Regions from separate parts of the Homo sapiens genome. Here all the other regions are linked to region 4. The links are contacts of gene promoters, found by promoter capture Hi-C in blood cells and fetal thymus (Javierre and others, 2016). All regions are on one chromosome and are shown on one strand. Each heading gives the region's core, a stretch centred on a gene start or on the middle of the fragment in contact. The rest is flanking DNA. Distances are from core to core; before and after follow the strand shown.

Region 1 (4,669 bases), core at 2,073-4,572, 3.9 Mb before region 4:
TTCCCTCTGGCCTGTGCAGATGCCCTTCCTTTCCTGGACTCTCCCTCCATCTGTGACTGGTGAATCCCTACCCCCACTTCAGGTGACTGACACCAGCGTCACTTCCTCTAAGCTCCCCCGACCACAAGCTCACCAGGTCAGCCCAGAACTGCTTTGTGGTCACAGTGCTTATCACAGTCGAATTAATACCTCACCAGGAATGTACTTTATGACTGCATCCTCTCCAGTATCTAAGCCCCATGGTGGTAGGGACCGTGTCTGCCTTGGTCAGAGCTGCATCTCTTAGGGACACAGTGCCTCATTCAAAATGGGTGCTGGGAGTACTAGCCAACTGACCCGAGTAGGCTCCCTTGGTGACAAAGATGTTGGTCCGCATTTCAAGAACTAAGAACTGTGCCATGACTGCCAGCATGCTCTGAGACAGTACTAGGGGTCTTTCCTTTTCTCAAACGTCATCACCCATTTGTAGGGATGTCTATACTTTTAAAACACTTTTAAATATTTCTCCTTTGAGAGGAGGGTCTCATACCCCTATCTAAAAGATCCAAAGGACCCCCCAAATCCTGCCTGATCTAAAAAGAGGACCCTCCCTGAGTATGAACCTCATCTAGTCTCACAGGGCTGGGATTCTGCCAGTTAGCACTTTCATTTCAAAATGTATTGTCATTTCTTTTGCTCCAAGCACAGTGGTGGGTGCTATGATGCAAAGATGACCAAGACTTGAACTGTACCTTCCAGGTATGTAATTTCTCCCTTAGGAGCCTCCTGAAATGCACATAGTATGGGTAAGAGAAACACAGAGCAAACCAGTTTGCAGCAGGGTGTTTTTTGCCACCTCAGATTCTGCCTTCTCTTGCCAAAAGAGGGGCTCTCAGCAGTATGGCCATGGTGGGGTAGTGGTGGGGGTTGGGGTAGGTGGGAATGGGTGGCAAAAGGCACAAATGTAGAAGTTGAGGGGCACTAAAGACACATTTCCCTTACAAATCTGAACTTTATTTCTTTACACCATCTTTCCAAGAAGAATGTAAGATATAAAACCCACATCATGGTCCTCAGTGATGCTGAGAAAGGAGGCAAACGTGCTTTCATCCTCCCCTCTCTTTGTGCACATTCATGCTAGTAATTGGCTGTGAACTAGCTCTTCTCCTCTGTACTGCTGTCCTTGATCCTGCTCCATCTAAGCTAGAGAGAAGACTACACCTACGTGAAAGGAGCGAGAATCATCTCTATGTGCATTGTGAAATAAAGCACAGCAGGATGAGAAGCCAGTCTTTTGGCACAGTGCCATGCGCTTTGCTTTGCATATGCATCACTTTGCTAATGTGCGCTGAACTCAGGGAGCCAGAGATGTGCAGCCATTACATTAAAGGGGACTGGTAGGAAGTTAGTGAATCCTGTGGAGGTTCCTTACCTCTAGGCTTGACTCCCTACCGGAGGTCTTTAGGCCAATGTATTAGCTCGTAAGAAAGTACCATAGACTGGTTGGCTTAAAAATTTTTGTTGTCTCATGGTTCTGGAGGTTAGAAATCTGAGGTCCAAGTTCTCTGCAGGGTTGGTTCCTTCTGAGGGCAATGAGCGCTCTGTTCCAGGCCTTTCTACTTGGATGGTTAATTTTATGTGCCAACTTGGGTAGGTCATGGTACCCAGATGTTTGGTCAAATACCAGTTTAAATGTCACTGTGAATGTATTTTTTAGATAAGATTAACATTTAAATCAGTAGACTTGGAATAAAGATTATTACCCTTCATGTGGGTGGGCCCTACCCAATCCGTCGAAAGCCTTAAGTTGAAAAAGACAGGTCCCCTGAGGAAGAGGAAATTCTACCTCCAGACTGCCTTTGGACTGGAGCTGTGCCATGGCACCAGTTTGTGCTCACAATCCAGTCTGAATGTGTCCCCAAAGTTCACGTTTTGGAAACTTAATCTGCAACGCAAAAGTGTTGGGAGGTGATTAAATCATGAGGGCCCTCCCCTCATGAATGGATTAATGCCATTATTAGGGGGAGCTGGTTAGTTTCTGAGGTAGTGGGTTCCTGATATAAGGATAAATTTGGCTTCTTTCCCTTCCCTCCCTCCCTCCTTCTTCACCCCCAACCACTCCCACCCCTCACATGCACATGTTCTTGCCCTTCTGCCTTGTGCTATGGGATGATGCAAGAGAGAGCCCTCACTAGATGCTGAGCAGATGCTGGCACCATGCCCTTGGACTTCCCAGCCTCCAGAATCATGAGCCACATAAATTTCTGTTCATTATAAATTATCCAGTGTCAGGTATTCTGTTACAGCACAAAACTGAGTAAGACAGGCTGTAATATCAATTCTTCCCTGGTCTCCAGTCTGCTGGCCTGCACTGCAAATTTCACGAGCCTACATTCACGAGCCAATTTTTAAAAATAAATCTCTCTCTAAACACACACACACACACACACGCACAAGCACACACACAGGCACACCCACACATACATACATACACACACACATATATACACATACACACACACAATTGGTTTTGTTTCTCTGGAGAACACCTAATAAACCTTGCTTCTGGTAATTCCTTGGCTTGTGTCAGCATTAAATCCAATTTTCGTAAGCCATTCTCATCTTGTCTGTGTCCAAATTTCCCTTTTAATTAAGGACACCAGTTATATTGGACTAGTGGTCACCCTAATGACCATAATTACCTTTATACAGACCCAATCTCCATATGAGGTCACATTCTGAGGTACTGGGGCTTAAGACTTAAACGTATATGAGTTTGAGATGGGAGGGTGCAATTGAACTCGTAACAGCCAGTGACACCTAAAGTATGTCTGCGTTGCCTAAAAGGTGCTGACAATTCTCAAACCAAAGTTAAAATCACTTTTGTTTAGTTTTATCTGTGTTTGTGTAAATACAGTTTTTAGTGGGAGTGTGTATGTCAAAATGTCTAAGGAGATGAAAAATCACCTTGTTGAAGCCATGTAAAAAAGTCTGGCTCAGGATTTAAAAGACAGACTGCCAATAAGCTTTCAATATCTTATCTTGATAGTTCCTGCAGCCAGGTAAGAGCATCTGGTTTTTAAATAACTTCACTATCTGAATTCACTTAGCAGGTTTAAACAGCAATAGTCCATGGGTCAACTGAATTTAGAATCTGTTTTCCCCTTATTAGGGCAAACTTCAAACTTGTACAAAAAAATGGTGAGAATAAATCATCTATATATCCAATACTCCATTTCAACAATTACCAGTGTGTGGCTGGATACCGCCTAGGAGAGCTAAGCCTTCTGTGCTACACATCCTTTGCTGTCACTGATTATTCATGTATGCCTTGGATATTACTAACATGTTCTTTTTCTGTTGTTTTGCAGCCTTAGAAATGTGTGAAAAAAGAAAAGATTCTAAAAGTCTTTAAATGTCATTCATAAGTAATGTATTTATTAAATGCCTCATAGCTTGAACTCTGCCTGATTAAGCAACTTATGCGAAAGAGACAGGAAAAGTACTAACAAAAGGTTACAATTATATTGAAAAATTCCTTGATTGGCATCAGATTGACTCTTCATTTTCTCAACTCCTGATTTCAAAAGGAAGCCTGCCTTTTGCAATTTCCTGAAACTTAAATTAGAGATTACGCTGCTATGTCTTAAGAAAGCTTAGCTTCCTCCTCTCACTCACTTCTTCCTTGAGAGTGTGATCCCAATCTGAGGTTGCCAAAGGTTTCAAAATATATTATACCTGATTTGTGTGTTGCAACTAACTGCCCCAGTGTGGCCAGTGACATGATGAATTTCCCTCTTTCCATCAGATTTCCTTAATATTCATATGCAATCACAAGGCACTCAACCTTTATTCCATTGCAACTGTGAGCAGTGGCAGCCTTTTTGCTTGGTTCCAAGCACAGGGCAGCTACGTATAGGCACAGAGAATGGTGCCCTTGCTGTTTCGCCTTTCGGTTAATTCCAGCCCAGGTACTGATTTAAAATAGCCCAGAAAGTTTTTCATTTCCAAAATATTCAAGAACAGTGCAGCTTTTCACTAAGTCCCTGAAGACAGGGGAGGTGGGGTGAACTTTGGTTCATTGTGAACTCTGATGCAGGCTATGAATAGTGACTCCTCTGAGAGATGCGCGGGGCAGCATCTTACCAGAGATTTCTGACTATTCTCCATACTCCAGCAAGACTTTCAAAGTGCATAGTGGAAATGGTCAGATTATCAGTAAAGAAGAAGGGGAAGCAGAAAGCAATGTGGTATTCAGTGGCTAATAAGGAGCATATAAACAAATTAAGGTTTACGCATCTTCGTTAAGTCATTTCCCAAGCTTTTCCAGCAAAAGTAAATGTGAGAGAAGTACACAGATATTAATACTAACGCGTTTCCAGCAGCCTCAGAGCAGCAGCATTTAACGCTGAATATCACACAGAATCCCAGCCACCAAGAATGTCTGCATTTTGGAGGTTCCTCTCCTCCGGCTCTGGGGCAAGGCACAACAGAAAAACTCAGATTTGTCCAAGGGACACAACTGTGCTTTTGATCTACTCTGGGGTGGCTGTGTCTGTCCATAGCCCCTAGCATAGTCAGGTGGGAATATCAACAATGCAGACCCGAGGGAGTCCCAGCTTGCTGCTCCTTGGTTTCTGGACACTCCTCTCATCCCGCAATGTCTCTGGGAAAGCTGTTCTACTTTTTA
Region 2 (4,416 bases), core at 1,837-4,336, 3.6 Mb before region 4:
AGTTTGATCCCAAATCTTCTCCCACATTCCCTGTGGTGGAGTGACTGCTCCTTCCAACCCCAGGCAAAAGATGGGTTATTAGTCGTTTGGCTAAGGTAAAAGAGAGAGCATCCTGAATGGGGGATGCCTGACATCCATGAGGGCAGGGTGCTGAACTAACAAGAGGATTAAGTGAACGCGTACATACTAGGTGCAACCACAATTCAGGCAGTTGGATCTGTACTGGAAAAGTATTTCTCTAGGGGGAATCTTACCAGCCTAAGAGAAAAGACCTAAAAAGGACTGAAATTAGCTGGGGGAGGGACTATCAAATGGAACAGCCCAAAGAGGTCATCAAGCCCCATTCCTGGGCTCAGACCTCAGATCAGCTCCTTTGTCCCTTTCTTTTAAGTATGAGCAAGCAAGCATGAATTCCCAGACCTCCAGGGAAAATTTCTAACATGAAAGACAGAGAGTAAAACACACAGAAAAAGGCAATTTGGAGGAAACAGAAGAAAACTTCAAATCATTAATAGCCAGGGGATGAGGGAAGAAGGTGAGACAGTGCAACTAATAAATAAAATGAAGGTGTTATTAAAAAAGAAAATGTCAGAGGACATAATTGAGCCCTAGGAAACTAAAACTATTATAATAAATTGAAAATTCAATAGAACAAAAAAGGAAGACAGAGTTGAAGAAATTTCCTATGAAGTAGAATAAATAAGAAATTAAAAGTGAAAAGATAAGAAGGTCTAACATCAGAATAACTGAAGTTACAGGAAATGAGAAGAGACACAATAGGAGATGTAATCAACAATTTAAAAATTCAAGAGAATTTCGAAGCACATGAGTTGGCAAGTGAAAAGGCTCTCTGAGTCCCTAGTCCAAAAGGTGAAACTATGCCTATACCAAGGCACAAAATGATGAAATTTCAGGACACGGGAGACTAAGAGATAATGTATAAGTTTCCAGAGTAAAGAAAAATTATGATAACTTCAAACAAAGGGCCAGGAATCCGAATGAAATTAGTTTTCTCAATAGCAACACCAAAAGCTAGCAGGCTAGAGCAATGCTGCTAAACTTCTGAAGGAAAATAATTTCTGGCCTACTATTTGGCACCCAAACTATCAATAAAATTGGAGGGCTGAAAAATAAATTTTCAGACATTAAAGTTCTTAGAAAATCTCCCGATCTCCCATGCAGTCTTCTTTAGGAGGCTACTGGAGGACGGTCTTCAAAAAAGGGTGCTAAAACGAAAAGGAAGACATCACTCAAACAAATCCCAATATCCTGTGATTTTCCTTGTCTCTCTCTTTTTTTTTATTGCCACGAGAAAACATCAGGTCCTCATTGCCTCTAGTCTAGAGCTAGTTTCTTAAGCTATAATGTGCATACTATCATTCCAGATCTTGTTAAATTGCAGATTCAGATTTAGCAGGTCTGGAGAATCTGAGAGTCTGCACTTCTGACCAGCTCCCAGTTGCTGTTGCTGATCTGCAGCCCCTACTTTAAATTGCAAGGAGGCTTCTGGACTACTGGAACAGCCTAACTGGTCTCTTCTCCAGCTGTGCCACTCTTTCACCTTCCTTTTCTCCAGTTCTTGGAACAATTTTCCTAGGACAAAGCTTTGATTGTGGTTTGACATTTCATCTCATATTCTGCATCAAAAAGAAGTAACTGCCTTAGTTACTCTTTTCCACCACACTAACCTTTGTTTCAACAGTGTGTAGCCTAAAGCTTATCAATATGAGTTTTAAAAATGCTAGTAACATCTTCATGTTCAAGGTATCTAATTGATTCTTTTATATCCACTGGTGTTTGTTTAATTTCTGCATGTTTTTATTTCCAAATTCTTATTCTTTTAAAAATGTCATTTCAAAAATTATTTGAATTGCGTCTAGAGTGAATTCTTCTTCCATTGTTACATTTGTGTGTTGTCTTTCTTAATATTATATATCTTCCATTGTTTTTGAATTTTGGTTTATAAACCAATCTTGAGAGCTCTCTCTCTCTCGCTCTCACTCTCACTCTCTCCTCTCCCCGTGTGTGTGTGTGTGTATGTGTGTGTGTGTGTGTGTGTGTGTGTGTGTGTGCTTATATCCCCCAGACTAGCAGTGATAGTGGAAAATTGCAAATTATGTTGCTTGGCTCAGTTCTGTTAGCAAAGTTATATCCTCAGACTGTTGGCAAAAAATTCTTTCAATGTCTATTCACAAGTAGGGGAGATGGTTAAGCAATAAGGCTTGGTTATCTATTGCTATGTAACAAATCACCCAAAAACTTAATGTTTTGAGACAATAACGATTTATTATTTCTCATAATTCTGTGGGTTAGTTAGGATCAGCTAAGTGGTTCTTTCCACATAGTATAGGCTGAAGTCACTCCAGTGGTTATATTAAATTGGGAACTCACTTACTGCTGGAATGCCCAAGATGACCTCTCATTCTTCAGGGCTTCTCTCCATGTGGCTTGCCATTATCCAATATCTTGTCTGAGCTTCACAGCATGGTCATTGGCTTTCAAGAGGAAAGGTTCCAACAAGATGCATCCCAGTAAATAAACACTTATTAAGCATCTGTGGCATCTCATTTGGCCATTCCAGTCACATGCTCAAACCCAGAGCCAATGTGGGAGAGGATTAGACAAGGCTGCCAATATGGAATACTGGTTTATTGAAGGTCACCGTTGTAACAGTCTCTCACAAAACTGGTTCCTGTATCAAGCCACACATGGAACCCTGTTAGTCTATTATTCTACAGGGGCTGAACCCTGGTTCACATCTTCCTGCTGCCACATACAGAATCCAGGACCTAGGTGGCTTTGTTCCTGATCACCATTTTGCGTATTGGTTCTGTTTCTGATACACGGAAATGTTTATCTTCTTGTTTAAATCACAGGTAAAACATTAAATTTTCTCATTTATATTGTATCACTTATTGTTATATTTGAAGCAGAATCAGGAGTTAGGAGTCTCAAAATACTAATTGAAAATGTGATCTTGGCTGGAAGTCCGCCTCAACATCAAGCCCATTTTCCTTAGTAATATCTTCTACCAGTTTGCTCTAACCTTCATTGATAATGCCACTCTTCTTCTGTCTGCCCACTTTCCCTTCTCTTTTCCTTTGTGATTACAAAGCAGTGTTTGCTGGACAGCACCTGTCTGTACCTCATTCATGTTGTTCTTGGAATTACCCTGTTCCCAAGAGTTGCATGACACCATCTACTTATTCTTCTAGCTAAATGCTGGCAGCTAGAAATACTCTTCCCCTTTGAACTCCCAATATTTTTCTTATATTTCTCTTATGGCATTTATCACTTCCTGCTTTTTATCGTAGATATTTACATATGCCTTAACTCTGTATTGTTTCCTTGCAAGTAAAGCTCATGCCAGGTTTTCTCTGCATCGTGCTTTGTACACAGATAGTAGGCTCTCAAGACATGTTTGTTGCCTTCGCACTCCAAGATTATCCCAAAGAGCTAATTTACATATGAAGTTGCAAAAACTGAATTTCAAGGGAAGATGATATCTACATTTATTTTACATCTTCATCATCTCAGGTCGTTTAATACTAAAACTGGTACCAATTGCCCTCATATTTTATTAAGTGCAATCAGAATATAATGCATGTAAGTATCTTAGTCTAATTTTAGTGGTTCCGGAGAAAATTCTCTCAAGACATACCTTGAGACCATACATTAAGGCAGGACACCATAATTAGAATCATCTCCAGATTTATATCTTAATCTTGCTACTACAAATTTCTTTTGACTTTTTAGAATATAGCCTTAAATGGAGACCTTTACTTAACTGACTATAAATGAAGTCATGTACCCAGGTGAGATTATGAACCCTTGGGAGTCGGAATCATGATTTATTTATCTTTTAATGCTCAGTGCCTAGGACAGAAGCTGGAGCTTTAAATAAATGTTCAATGTTTTCAGACTTTGTTGGAACAGCCTGCAGGCTCCTCAACGCCCTCCCCCACAGAGACTCAGCAACAGTGTGCCTCTATTAATATCTATTTATAAAGGTCAGCCTATTCTATATTTGAAACACAAAGAACCTTTTAAGAAAGGTGGATTTCTTTTGACTATTGATAACATGTACAGGAAAAGCTAGAAAAAATAAAAAGCTGTTGAAACACAGGGACTATGCTTAATATTTCTTGTATTCCCCACAAGGCCTTTTACAGAGCAGACATCCAGTAAATGTTTGATGATAAAAATAAGAAATATTTGTTATATTTTGAAAAAAGATTCATGGTGGAATTTCAAACGTGTACTGTGATCAGAACTATGGCAGGGGCAAACCAGGGGCTCAATAAGTGAGGCTTAACCCTCATTTATACCTTCCAGGATTTCTACCCCCACTCTTTGTCTTAAAACCTATTACAAAAATGGAAAGGAGGCCAAATGCTGTACCTATCTGGTAATGTC
Region 3 (4,765 bases), core at 299-2,798, 3.1 Mb before region 4:
TGAGAATCCACTATATTTTAAGACATGCTAGATGGTTTATGTTTTTTTAAAAAATTTAATCCTACTAACTTTATTATTTGCACTTCACAGATATGAAAACGGGCTCAGAATAGACAAGTAAGCTATGTAGTGGCAGGGTTAGGATTACAATCAATCTTAAGGTAGGCAACATATAAATCCTTATTTAATTCCATATTTACAATAAGTTATTCCGTATGTTTTACAAAATTACTGTACAAGCATTAAATATTCAGTTAAGTACCTGACAACTCAAGTATCTGTGACATCTGGACACAGAATGTTCAACCAATAAATCAATTCTGGACTCATAGGTACTTTGCAAGATACAGTTTGGGATAAGAACTTGTTCCAGCATTGGAGGGCCTATTTTGTGGGTAGCATGCTGGGTTGTATGAAAGCCAAATCAAACAAAATATCCAAGGAATTTGTATACCCAATTAAGTACACATCAATAGTATTATGGCAGTTTCCAGGTACATTTTCGCTAGTGTTGCTGGTGAAAGGCCAGCAGTGGAACCGTGGACTGGACAATGTCACCCGTGTTGTGGGCCTAACAAGTATCCTGCAAGTTCCATAAACACGAGGGCATGCTAAAAACTTAACCGATTTCCAACTTACATTAACCCTTTAAAGGGAGCATGGGACACACCACTTGACCATTTGAAGCAGTGCACACGGCTTGTCATGGAGAGGAAAACCTTTGAGACGTGCCCAGCATCATTCCTGTGAGGGTCGAAAGGGTCCCTAACACCTCCCACAAATACACTCACAAACACTCCAGCAAAGTTGGGGATGCTCACTGCACACCTTTCTTAATACCTGGAACAGAGTACCCACCTGTCACATACTCAGCTTCGAACCTCCTCCGGGTCTCAGAGATGAGCTTGGCTTTATTCTGGGCGTGATTCTGGATGGGAGACACGATGGGACCTTAGATACTACTTGCATCAACCCGCTTACCCTCAACCCAGCCCACCTGCACACGGGCGCTCGGTCCCCGGGCCTCAGAGGCGGCTTCCGGGTCCGGGGGGCCAGCGGCGGTGCAATAGGCTCCTCACCTCTGCCATGATCACCGTCGTGGATGTGATTGCGGTTGTCGCCGTCGCCCGTTCTACCGTCGCCGACCGAGTATCTCATCACCCGGCAGTCCCGCCCAGAGGTAGACAGAGAAGGGTGGGAGGGGGAGGCGGTCGCGTGACACCGGAAGGCGGACAGAAGCGCCGCCGCACCGCCCAATCCAATGCGGACGCCTGGGTCTGGAGGCGGGACCAGGCCCTCAGCCTAGGTCCCATTCGATTCTCGTCTGGCCTCGCCCCGCGACATCCCCCGCACTGCGGTCCCGCCCCCGCCAGCCGCGAGATCGCCGGCGCTTCCCCCGCGGAGCTCCGCCCTAGAGAGCTCGCGGGCTCTCTGCTTTCACAACACTCCCCAGGGCCCCGCCTCCTCAGCCTCCCTTGGCCACCTCTCCTGGCTGGCTTCTAGGCTCCGCCTCCTCTGCGTTCGACGCAGCCTCCGCCCGGCCTCCCAGGATGCAGCGCGCTGGCGGGAGGTTTGGAGCAGATGGATACCGTATCGACGTGGGGCCTCCGGTATGTTGCCGCTGCGTTGAGGTAGGATGGGGCTGGCGAGTCTTCCCTTCCCAGGACTTCGCAGAGGGGGCGATGGGGCTGGATTTCCTCCCCTTGTCCCCGCATTGCGGGAGAGAGGGAAGGAAGCGGGCATCCCGAGACCTGGGTCTGTCATTCCTTGCAATGATAATTGGATTTTAAGTGCTACATTCGCTTGAAGTTTTTTTCATCCCTTCAGTATCCTTCCAACTTGGAGTGTGAGATGCTTAATGAGCAAAATATCTCTGAAATCTTTAATCTCAAATAATTATATAAAGTTAAAAAAAGCGTGTTTCGGCTTATTAAGGTAGTTGTGTTCAGCCGGGGGGGTGGGGGGGTGTGTGTGGGGGGGGCGGTTTTACCACCCAGGGGACCTTTGGCAACCTCTGGAGACATTTTTAGTCACCACTGCTAGGGGCCGGGGGCAAAAGAGATGCTCACTGGCTACTAGTGGATAGAGACCAGGGAAGCTGCCAAACATCCTCCAGTGTACATGAAAATTCACAACAGTTATCCAGCCCAAAATGTCAATAGTGTCAAGGTTGAGAAAGATTTAGATTTAAAGGGACTGGAACAAATTTTATTCGTCAGTTAAAAACAATTGAAAGAAAATAGTTGCGCATACAATATTGCCTTTTTTAAAGTTGAAAGATACTGAAAACTACAAACAAGTTGTAAGAATAGTCCCCCATATTTCCATCAACCGTAGTCATCCATGACAGAATGGCATGTTAGCATCTTTTGTCCTAGACTTTTAAATATATTTACATTTTTTATGGGAAAAAATGAACACATTGTTTAAACGTTGTTTGACTACATCCTTAAAAGATATTTCAGATATAACTAAAGTCTCCTTCTACCTCTACTCACCTATCCTGGACACTTCCTTGTCCAGAATCAACAGCATTCAGAATTTGGCATGAAATGTTTACAGTTTTACATTTTTTTATTTTGGATCATACTGCCTGGGTTTGAATCCTGGCTCTGTCACTTCTTATCTGCAAGCCTTTGAGAAGATCCTGAAACTCCTTGCCTCAGTTTCTCCATCTATAAAATGGGATAGTAACAGTGCCTATGTCATAAGGATGTTGTGAGGAAGAAACGAGTTAATCCAAAGTGCTTAGAGCAGTACCTGGCACTGTTTCTTCAGGAAAAAAAAAAAAAATAGTACATGGCACTATTTCTTGAGAAAGCACTCAGGGACTGTAGTCATTGTAGGTAAATAGAACATATATAATGCTGTTTTATTTGTTTTACATAAATAATATGCTGCAGTGTACATTTGTCTGCAACTTAATTTTTAATTCATTTTATTTTTGAAATTTAACCATGATTATATATATATATACACACACACACACACACATATATAGATAGATAGATCTAATTCATTCCTTTTAACTCTTGTTTGATAGTCCATCTATACTCATTCCCCTATTGGTGTTCATTGAGGTTTTTACTTTTTTTATATTGCAAATATCAGCACAGTGAGCTTCTAGAGCAATGTATTCATTCATATGTGGGATTATGTCTCTGGGTTTATATCTACAAATGAAACTACTGGGTATATGCATTTCAGTTGACTGCCAAATTACCTTCAGAGTCATCTCTCCCTTTTATTTAAGTACTCATAATTTTCTTCTAATTGTTAGCTCTTTTTCCAGTCTGATCTCACTCACACCTTTAACACTGTCACCAGGATCTTCATAACTCAAAAGTACAGTCCTGTGATTTCTGTTTTTGAAGTCTTTCAGTGGGTTATCATTACTTATATGAGAAATTTATAAGTCCTTAATATGACATAAAAATCTTCTTTAGCGTAATCTTCCCAAATCCTCTAATTTAGTTGATCACGATTCTCCCGCATTTACTCACATTTCAGGCATATTAGATAATGTTGAAAAAGGTGAGATCAATTCTGTATAGGACCCAATAAATAACTTATGTAGGGAGAAAAAAACTTTTAACAGTGGCCCTATTTTGTAGGAAAGTTAATTTACTTTGGTTAACAATGTCATATGTCTTGGAAAAACAACATCTATCATTATTATCTTCATAAAATTATGTTCAGTATTATTAGGTGCCATTTTAGTTGAGTGTCTTAATTTTACTTTTTTCCCAAGGATACTTTCTCTTGGTCACAGTTAATATGGTTTCTTAGACTTTTTGGATGTCATCTGCTCTTCTAGGATAATCTGGAACCACACTGATAGTTTATTTAAAGAATTGTCACATTTATAGGGCCAAAATGATTTATGAGCATTTAAAAAGAATGAACAACATATTTATTAAGAGGGGGGGCAGTAAAGAGTAGATGAGGATGATAATTTTATTGCCAGCCTACTATTTTTATGTTAGCATATGCTTGTATATATTATCATTTTTCTAGTATACACACACATCTGTTTTAATTTTATGTATAAAATAGATAGTCAACTTTGATGTATGGTAATATAGAACAGGAAAAGCTCAAATTAATTATGTAGTATTTTATAAATAATCTACTTTCTGGTCTCCACGCCCCGCCCCGCACCGCCACCCTGCCCCGCACCGCCACCCCTAGTTACTTCTGTATCTTCTGCAGCCACTGTTATAATGTTAATAAGTAAAAAGTCAAATAGCCCATAGGCTAGAATAGTAAACCTGGGGCCCTGATAAGCAGAGTTTAAAATAGTGAGGGGTTGCTTATAATTGGACTAAGAACCTGTAAATTGAACCTTAGTTTGATTTGTTTCCAGATATGTTTCTATTTTTTTTAAATGCCAGTTATTTCATGGCCTGCAGGTTTTATGAACATATCCCAAGAACTTTAAAAATAGATGTTGCAGCAGCAATACTTAATATCTACTGTCTTAGCAGTTACACCTCAATAAAGCTGGGAAAAAAGTTAAAATTCATTTTAGCAATGAATTAAATTTTAATGATTGAGTATTACTTAGATATAATAAATAGCAAACATTAAAAACAAATGAGATTGAAAACATGTTGCATCAGTATAAAATATAGTGGATATGCACATATATGTAAATTCAATAAGTCTTGCAAAAACTTTTCACTCAATAGTCATAAATAGTCATTTATGTTTTTAGATCAGTTTAAGTTCATGAGAATAAGTTTGCTTTCTGCCTGGAGATCGT
Region 4 (4,459 bases), core at 1-2,500:
AGAGCTCTGGGAGTTGTAGTCTCCTGGGCTCCCCTATGTCCAGTGCCAGGATGGCTAGCTGGAGACTCTGGAATCCCTCCCTGTTGTGTCCCTAGAGGGAACAACTAAAACTAATGATGGGGCGTGCCCCCCCCCCTCCGCCCCGAGGAGGCTGGAGGGCGAGGAGAAAGAGGGATAGCAGACGCGGTTAAAAGACAGGAGCAGCAGGGGAGGGAACTGAAGGCAGAATATGCTCATCCCTTTAGGGATGTCCTTTAGCATCTCTAATGGACAGAGCTGTCCAGACATCGCCAAAGACACACCTGGGACTGCCCCTGTCCCTGCCGCCTAAGGCTTCGCCCAGGTGGCCCTAGGAACCCAGGTCTCTGAAATGAAAGCACCTGGGTGCTTTCCTTGGGGATCTGGGAGACCTGGTGCCAACTCCTGCCCGCCACCCAAATCTGAGGAGCTGCAAGATGTGGCTCAGCTCCCGGAGACTTAGGTGGACCGGCCCGGGGCGCGATTCCCATCAACTATGGTCAGACCCACGTAAATCCTTCAGAGTTTGAAAACGTAAATGCTGCAAGGCCCTGGGGTACGAAAACACTGGGCCAACCTTGCCCTCGGGATGGGGTTCACGGCCTACAGGCGGGATGGGGCCTAAACTGGACTAGGGTCCCAGGGACACAACGTCGCAAGTCAGCGGCCAGCGCCGTGTAACTATGAATTAGAACCTGGATCGGACGGCCAGGGCGTCCCACAGGAGCCCACCCGGCACCAGGCCGCACAGAAGGAGACATTTAACGCGAAGACAGAAACCGTATTCGAGAAGCCTCCTCCCTCAGCGGCCACCGTTGCAGTCGGGGGCGCAAACGGTAGCCCCGGTAACGCGACAAAGCATGGGCGAGGCTCCCAACCGCGCGTGCGCCGCCCGGCCTGACGGAAGGAAGTGGAAGCATCCCAGACCCCGCCCCGACTCCCGGGCGTAGCGCCCTGTGAGCGCCCCCTGCCGGCCGCACCGCTCCTCGCAGGCCGAGGAGCCCGGCCGGTCCCTCAGCTCCGCGCGGCCGTCCGCCCCCGCCCCCGCCCCCGGTCCCGGGTCCCCCAGCCCGCGCCTCCTCCCTGTCCCTCCGCGGCGGCACCTTGGCATCGTACAGCACTCGCGCCTTGGTGGGGTCAGGCTCGAAGCACAGCACTTTCTCCCCTGAGTGGAATTTAAATTTCATGCCCTCGCTCGCGCTCATTTGCTCATCGTGGCGGAGGGCGAGGCTCCGGGGCGGGCGGAGCGCGCGCGGTGGGGGAGGGCGGGCGGGGGCGGGGAGGCGGTGCGCCGTGGCCGGGGGGGGCCGGGAATGGCGGAGGCTGCGGCCGCCCCGCCCTCGGCCCCTCCTCCGCCCGCCCCGAGCCGCTGCCGGGACCTCGGAGGCGCCTGGCGCGCGCGCTCCCGCCCGGGCGCGTCCCCGCACGTCCCCGCCGGGGCTCCGGGAGGGGTGCGGGCGGGGAGCGCGACCCCCTGGCCAAGGTCTACCGGCAGGACGTCTCCCGTCGCCCCCATGGGAGAGGGTCCCCGCGGCCTCCAGGCTGCGCCCACGTGCGCGCAGGGTCGTCCGTCGCCCCGAGCGCCCGCTCTCCGGCCCGGGCGTGGGAGGCGCCTAGGGAGAGAGAGAGCCGGTCTGGAGTAGGCACCCGGCGGCCGGGAGGCTGGACGGCGTCTGCCCCCAAGAGCTCCCTGGCCGTGCGCGCCGCGTCAGCCCCCTTGGCAGAGCAGCGCGCCGATGAGTGTGGCCACGCTTGGAGAACGCAGCGCTGGAGCTGGCCCCAGGCGGGCAGTGGCCTCGGGCGAGGGCAGAAGGGCACTCCGGGCTGTGAATAGAACACTTGCTTATCCCTTCAGAGGACAAGCCGGTGGCAGGCCTGGAGCCCCCAGTGACGGGTTGAGCAGTGGGCAGCGAGGCAGATGGGTCCTTAAAGAGTAGCTGACGTCTTCAGTGTCAGCTTCTAGCGTGGCCTGACAGCCCCCAGCATCCCCGGAATGCCCCCCACGGTCTATCTGCTCCAATAGACTAAAAATTCCCTAAATAGAAGCACCCTTGAGGCCGCTATCAATATGGTACCTGCACAGAGTGGATGTTAAGTAAATACTTGATGAGCGAATGACAAGTGATGGGAGACTTGAAGGACAAACTTCCAGGGACAGGAAGGACAGTGCTGGGCTTTTTCTTTTGAGTTTTGGAAAGCCGTTGGGCAGTGTAATTACTGGATTAGGACCGGGCTGGAGACCAGCTTCCAGGCTAATCTCTGCGGACCTGGTGAACTTCCCCTTCTCTGTTCTAGCCTCCAGAAAGTTGCATTTGCTTCCCCTCTGCACGCTTCCTTCACCAGGTTCCTGGTATACATCCTTCACATTTCAGCGTGGGCATGCCAACAGAAAAGCCCTCAGGCTTCCCAAGATGAATCATAAAGCCCTGAGGTGTTCCCTCCCAGGACTCTGCTTAACCCCTTTCTTGCATGTACCACTGTGCTATAGAATGGGTTGTTCATTTGCAAAATGACCTCATTAAGACAGTAAGCTCTTTGAAGCTGGGGGTAGGGGTCTTATCCAATTCATCACGGCGTATTCGTGGCACATAATATGGAATGAATGAACAGATTGATTTAGGAAATAGAACCCACAAAACTCAGTGGCCAATTGGATGTGAAGGAGAGGGAAGGAGGAATCTTGAGAGACTTCCAGGTTTTCTGGCCCAAGGAATTGGGTGAGTAATAGCTGCATCCGCCAGAATAAGGCTATACAGAGGAGTTAAAGGTTGGGGGAAGATGGTCAAATGGCCTTTGGGGTAATACGGTGCAGAAACTAGAACTGGAACCATGATTCCTCTCCAGGTTGTGGTGTATCAGAGATGAGAACAGTAGATGGTGGTGTTCCCCACAAATGGCAGGGGCGGCTTGGAAGCACATGTAATTGCACGTCCTGTGTAAACCGTAACTGAAGTATTCACCTTTTTATTTTTCCTGCCCATGATTGGAGAGAGTTCTGCTGCAGGCTCTACCCTTTCAGGGATAGGATTTTAGATGCTTTCCTTTGTTTCTCCGCATTTCCACCCCTTCTTATGTCATTGAGGAATTCCTCTTTCCCCGTCCCTCTAAAAAGTCCAAGAATGCAAAAGCCTTCAGGAACCTAAAAGTTAAAAAGCCTGCCAATGGCAGCACCCCTTACAGTCCTCCTCCAGATTAGGATCCACTAGAGAGGGCTCCACCCTTAATGCAGGACATCATTTTTCCTCTCGGGTGTAAAGGTTAAGAACATGGCCAGCTCTGCAAACCACTCTCCAGGACCCAGTCCCATGCTTGTCACTTTCTAGCTTGTGACCATGGACAACTGGTTAGTCTCTTTGTAATGCACTTTGTTCATGTTTAAAATGAAGGAAATAGTGGCTCCTACTTCATAGGGTTTTTTAGGAGTCAATGAGTCAATTCAGTGTACATGGCTTTGTGTAGTGCCTGACATATAAGGGCTGGGTAAATATTTGCTCTTGACATTAGGCATTTCTTATCTGTTTCTCCGTGTCCCCCATTCATTCATTCATTCATTCAGCAAATATTTATTGGACCTCCTGTGTGCTGGTTGCTAGACACACAAAGTAGAATACATACATTACCCCTGTCCTCCCAGAGGGCACATTTCAGGAGGGCGGAGCAGCAAGCAATCAAGTTCAAGCTTTATGTGCATACCCTGATAAAGCTGGTGTGGAATAGAGGAGACAGAAGAGCTTACTTCTCTCTAGGAGGAGGGAGAGTATCTGAAAAAGCTCCAGAGAGGAAGGCACTCTTGAATTGCAACTTAGGTGTTTTCCTCATTTTCCAGTTTTTGAGGTTTGGACAGTAGTTTCGTCTGTATTCGGGCATGATTATAGAATGGTCTTGTTTTTGTCGGGATTAAGATAACCATTAAATCTTATAACAAATCTTTTTGATTTCTCATTATAGGTCACCTACAGGAATTGCTTCTCTTAGCAAGGTGAGTGCAGTGCGGGATCCAGTTAGTTGCGTCGCCCGCCGCCCCGCTGGCAGAGGCCCAATTTTGTTCAGGTGTTTGCCATCCCACATTGTTAGAGCAGACCTCTCACCAGGGCTGGAGTGACACTTGATCGGGCTAATACGGTAGGACTCACCTCTGGGTATACATTTGGAACAGCTGGGGAACTTTGAAAACTTGTTAAAATACTGTTGCCAGGAGTTGGAATTTTGTTTCCAAAGTTCCCAGGCGATTCCATTGTGCAGGCGGGGCTGAGAACTACTGGTCTAAACCAATCCCGGCAATCCCCTTCCTCTTACAGTGACTGGTTTAAGTATGGTCATGTGATACACGCCTGGCCAATGAGAAATTCTCATAGCGAGTTAAAATGGGGAACTGTGAGTACTTCTGGAAAATATTTTCCACCTGCCTCCCCCCAAAAGAAATACATCTGGCATAAAGTCT
Region 5 (4,649 bases), core at 1,332-3,831, 4.0 Mb before region 4:
TCCAGGCTGACTAAAAACAAACATCTGCATCTAGATTGCATACAAAACAACAACAACAAAAAAACAAAAACAAAAACAAAACAAAAAACCCAAGATACATCCTGCCAAAATAGTCATGGACAGTTTTGAAATCTGAGCTTAAATATAATCTATGACTCTTTGCCAATTTTAGGTGTAACACAATGGCCCTTGAACATGGGAAAACAGACAAAGTTAATCCTGAATTCTCTCTCTACCTTTCACATGGTCACAGTCAAAGTCTCAGAAGATGAAGATGATGCTTTCCAAGGTATTCACTATGGTGTTCTGAAGTTATGGTAATATTAACTTTGAACACTTTCCCCACCACAATACTGCTTCATCCATTTTCCCTGAAAACTATCCCTATTCCATTCTGAAATTTTGAAAAAAAAAAAATCAATTCTTCTTGGTTACACATTCATTCCACTACAGATTTAGAAGTGTTTAGTCTGAGTACTTGAGACACATTCAAACAGATGTTCAGGACATCCTTTGTGCAACCATGACTGTGGTGTGGCTGCAAGGCCATGTGCTCTGGGCCTGCTAAGATCTCGGCCTCACATCCATTTGCACTCCTGCCTGCCCACCAGCTACGTGGGCTTCAGATCTTCCAACTCCTTTCTTTCCCTCCGACCTGTGCAGAGGCTCTTTTTTGTATTTTTCATAGAGATAGGGTTTTACCATGTTGGCCAGGCTGTTCTTGAATCCCTGATCTCAAGTGATCCTCCCACCTCAAGCCTCCCAAAGTGCTGGGATTACAGGTGTGAGCCACTGTGCCCGACCATCCCTGGCTAACTTTATTTTTTTTAGAGATGGGGGTTGGCGGGGGCGGGGGGGGGGGTTCTCACTATATTACCTGGGCTGGTCTCAAACTCCTGGACTCAAGCAATCCTCCTGCTTAATGGCCTCGCAAAGTGCTGGGATAACAGGTGTGAGCCACTGCATCTGGCCTGCTTATAGTTTTATGTGTGTGTTTGTGTATATACATTTTTGAACGGAGCATGTATGTCAAAATGCACCTTATTTAAGAGATGCAAATGTTTGACTCAGGATATCAAACATGGACTGGTAATCAACTTTCAAGGGATTATCTTGATGGTGCCTTGAGCTAAATAATAGTGATATAGGAGTTAAGAAGAAATTACTTAGGCAGATAGTGAGGATATGGGAGTCCTCAGTAAGGTTTTCCTTTTAATAAAAAGCAGCCCCCAAATCATTTTCTTTCCTAACAAAGAGCAGCCTGTAAAATTGAGCTGCAGACATAGACAAGCAAGCTGGAAGCTTGCACAGGTGAATGCTGGCAGTTGTGCCAATAGAAAAATACTACATAGGACTAGGCATGTTCCAAATGGCGGCTTCATCTTCCCTTTGCCAGCTAAGTGTACAGTAAGGAGCAGACAAGATGGCACTGGCCAAGTAGAAAGCCCCTTTGCAAAATAAGATTAGGGTGGGGCGACCAGCCTTCCTGCGTGCTATGTAAATGTCACACCTGGTCGAACCAATCTGTGGCCCCTATGTAAATCAGACACCGCCTCCTCAAGCCTGCCTATAAAATCTGCTGCAGTCCGCCACTTGTCCCATTTTTGGACGCCTCTCTTGCAAGAGAGAGAGCTGCTCTCCTCTCGCAAGAGAAAGAGCTGCTCTCCTCTCTCCTTTCTTCTGCCTATTAAACTTTCCTCTCCTGAACTCCACGTGTGTGTCCCTGTCGTTAATCTTCTCCGTGTGAGACACCGAACCCAGGGTATTTACCCCAGAAAACAAAGCCGCGTCATTAGCACCCTGTTTTCAAATAACTTCCTTAACTGAATTAACTGAGCAGACTTAAAGAACAATAGGCCATTGGCAACTTCAATTTAGAATCTCACTCTGCTTTGTTTTTCTTAACAAAGAAAAACTTTATTATGGAAAACTTAAATTTTATACAAGTATAGTGAGAACACTATAATAAAACCACCCATGTACCCAATATTCCATTTCAACAATTGTCTGTTCATGGCCAATCAAGTTTTATTTATACATCTTCTACCCCCCCTCCTGCCATTTTTCCTCCCCAGCTTATTTTGAAGCAAATTCCCAGACATCCTATCAACTTATCCCTCATTGTATTTTTGAAATCAAAGGACACTTTGATCTCATCTCCTCCTCAAACAATCAGCAGCAAGCCTAGCCACCTCCACCCATTCCCCTAAACTGCCTTTGAAAAACCCGTAACCTATGAGCTTTGGAGGAGATTATTTCAGTACTAATTCCATCTCCCACATGGTGTGGCCAGCCTCGTGTCTACTTAAACTCTTTCTTTACTACAATGCTGAAACCGCCTTTGCAAAATTATAACTGAGGAAATTATGACAGTGAATAAAATCAGACCTAATCAACTCCATCTTGCTTCTAACCTTTAGGCTGTCTTTGTTCATTCCTGGACATAGGCTGAACTAACTTTGGGAAAGAATTCAGTTCATGGTGTGACTCTGAAACAAAATTGATAGCAGCCCTTTCCCAAAAAGACCCCCTTCTTGCCTGGGGACGAGTCTGCCTCTGCAGGACTAACAACTTAGCTAGTGGTTAGAAATTATAGTTTAGGGGTTGTGCAGCCTCTGGCTCAGAGTCTGAACCTCCCCAAATTGCTCCTTGGGATAACATCACTATTGTAAAACCTAAGATCAGCGCTTGAGATATTTTGCAGACCCTGCACTTGATGGATCAGCTGACACCACCCAGACCCGTAATCTGGCTCAACCAGTTCTGCCATCCTACCCAGGAACAAAAGACAGCAAGAAAACCTCACTTCAACCCCCTATGATTCCATCTCCAACCTGAGCAATCAGCACTCCCCACTTCTCAAGCCCTTACCCGCGAAATTATCTTTAAAAACTGATCCCTGGATGCTCGGGGAGACTGATTTAATAATAAAACTCTGGTCTCCCACACAGTTGGCTCTATGTGAATTACTCTTTCTCCATTGCAATTCCCCTGTCTTGGTAAATCGATTCTGTCCAGGCAGCGGGCAATGTGAACCCACTGGGCGGTTACAATGCCCCGTGGTCTTTCTTTGTGCAGCAGGCAGGAAGAATCCCTTGAGTGGTTACAATAATATGAACTGAAATGGTTAAGATTAATGCTTAAAGTACACCCTTAAATTTATGCAAGAATCTAGAACCCAAGGAGCAGGAAAAATAGTTGCTCAGTTACACTATACAAGAAGTTTGGCCAGGTGCAGTGGCTCACGCCTGTAACCCCAGCACTTTGGGAAGCTGAGGCTGGTGGATCATGAGGTCAGGAGATCGAGACCATCCTGGCCAACATGGCGAAACCCCATCTCTACTAAAAATACAAAAAATTAGCCGGGCGTGGTGGCGTGCACCTGTAGTCCCAGCTACTCAGGAGGCTGAGGCAAGAGAATCGCTTGAACCCGGGAGGTGTAGGTTGCAGTGAGCCGAGATCATGCCACTGCACCACTGCACTCCAGCCTGAGTGACAGAGTGACAGAGCGAGACTCCGTCTCAAAAAAAAAAAAAAAAAAAAAAAAAGAAGTTGACGCTTTCTGTGGCTTCAAATGGTGCAAGCTATGAAAGCTCTTTGAAAAAGCTGCTAAGTGTTATATAAATACAAGTTATTATTACTCAAATTGATTTTGTTAAAATGCTACCCATCATATAAATGCAAAAAGCTATGAAAATAGTCATTTTGGACGACTTTTAGTATCATTTTTTTGTTTTCTTTTAAAGTCAATAAATATCCCCAAACAAACAACTGCAACTAATCAGGATTCCCTCTGATAAAACTGATTTGACATTAAAATGAAATTTCAAAACCTTCTAAAAGATATGGGGAAAGCTTGCCTTAACTGTTCTTCCTTTCCATTGATTTCCAGTCCTGAACTGAAGGAACAGTGAGTGATTATCTCATGTCGAGCACTGTGCTGTGTAAAGATGAAAAGATCATGCTCTTTCCCCACTCCCACAAGCTTGCAATCTACAAAGAAAAACTATTTAAACAAATACTTCTTTTTTTGTTACCTTTTAAAAATTGTGATAAAACATATATAATAGTTATCATTTTAACCAGCTGTAAATGTACAAATTCAGTGGCATTAAATACATTCATAATGTTGTGCAACCATCACCACCATCTGCACCCAAAACTATTTCATCATCCCCAACATAAACTATGTACTCACTAAACAATAACTCCTCCTCTATCCCTTAGCCCCTGGCAATCTCGCTTTTACTTTGTCTCTGTGTATTTATTTGCCTATTCTAGATACCCCACGTAAGTGGGATCGTACGGTATTTGTCCTTCTGTGACTGGCTTATTTTACTTAGTATAATTAAACAGATTTTTCTTTTCTTTTCTTTTCTTTTCTTTTTTTTTTTTTTTTTTTGAGACAGAGTCACGCTCTGTCACCCAGGCTGGAGTGCAGTGGTGCGATCTCGGCTCACTGCAACCTCCGCCTCCCAGCTTCAAGCAATTCTCCTGCCTCAGCCTCCAGAGTAGCTGGGAATACAGGCACCCACCACCATGCCCGGCTAATTTCTGTATTTTTAGTAGAGACGGGGTTTCACCATGTTGGCCAGGCTGGTCTCGAACTCCTGACCTCAGGTGATCTGCCCACCTTGGCCCCTAAAGTG

Evidence for each region. Contacts are between HindIII fragments. The CHiCAGO score rates a contact against its expected background, and 5 or more counts as called.
Region 1: a contact is called between a fragment that was not itself captured here and the fragment with the promoter of MSL3 in region 4, in 1 of 17 cell types (fetal thymus). The highest score is 5.3, in fetal thymus.
Region 2: a fragment that was not itself captured here is called in contact with the fragment with the promoter of MSL3 in region 4 in 1 of 17 cell types (total CD8 T cells); the score reaches 6.2 in total CD8 T cells.
Region 3: the fragment with the promoter of FANCB here is called in contact with the fragment with the promoter of MSL3 in region 4 in 1 of 17 cell types (naive CD8 T cells); the score reaches 6.1 in naive CD8 T cells.
Region 5: a fragment that was not itself captured here is called in contact with the fragment with the promoter of MSL3 in region 4 in 1 of 17 cell types (non-activated CD4 T cells); the score reaches 5.0 in non-activated CD4 T cells.

Annotation. Positions count from the first base shown.
Region 1 is chrX:15,676,068-15,680,736 of GRCh38, reverse strand. The region is part of intron 1 of CA5BP1-CA5B (CA5BP1-CA5B readthrough); the gene reads right to left. It also overlaps the pseudogene CA5BP1. Among named protein-coding and RNA genes, the nearest start is that of CA5BP1-CA5B, 2.9 kb to the right of the region's middle. The HindIII fragment of the contact is 629 bases long and covers 3,008-3,636 here.
Region 2 is chrX:15,336,957-15,341,372 of GRCh38, reverse strand. No RefSeq gene overlaps it. Among named protein-coding and RNA genes, the nearest start is that of PIGA, 3.6 kb to the right of the region's middle. The HindIII fragment of the contact is 2,735 bases long and covers 1,719-4,416 here.
Region 3 is chrX:14,869,852-14,874,616 of GRCh38, reverse strand. FANCB (FA complementation group B) reads left to right here and starts at 1,548. Exons shown (of 10, transcript NM_001018113.3): 1 at 1,548-1,631. MOSPD2 (motile sperm domain containing 2) reads right to left here and starts at 1,196. Exons shown (of 15, transcript NM_152581.4): 1 at 1,080-1,196; 2 at 859-928. The coding sequence starts at 1,088. RefSeq lists a silencer at 1,229-1,458. The HindIII fragment of the contact is 4,870 bases long and covers 1-4,765 here.
Region 4 is chrX:11,755,028-11,759,486 of GRCh38, reverse strand. MSL3 (MSL complex subunit 3) reads right to left here and starts at 1,250. Exons shown (of 13, transcript NM_078629.4): 1 at 1,122-1,250. The coding sequence starts at 1,223. It overlaps MSL3-DT (MSL3 divergent transcript), which reads left to right and starts at 1,404. Exons shown (of 2, transcript XR_007068393.1): 1 at 1,404-2,735; 2 at 3,967-4,459. RefSeq lists an enhancer at 803-1,097 and silencers at 951-1,330, 1,341-1,490, 1,511-1,710. The HindIII fragment of the contact is 7,532 bases long and covers 1-3,699 here.
Region 5 is chrX:15,744,922-15,749,570 of GRCh38, reverse strand. The region is part of intron 1 of CA5B (carbonic anhydrase 5B); the gene reads right to left. The region is part of intron 4 of CA5BP1-CA5B (CA5BP1-CA5B readthrough); the gene reads right to left. Among named protein-coding and RNA genes, the nearest start is that of CA5B, 9.0 kb to the right of the region's middle. RefSeq lists an enhancer at 1,540-2,401. The HindIII fragment of the contact is 2,553 bases long and covers 1,305-3,857 here.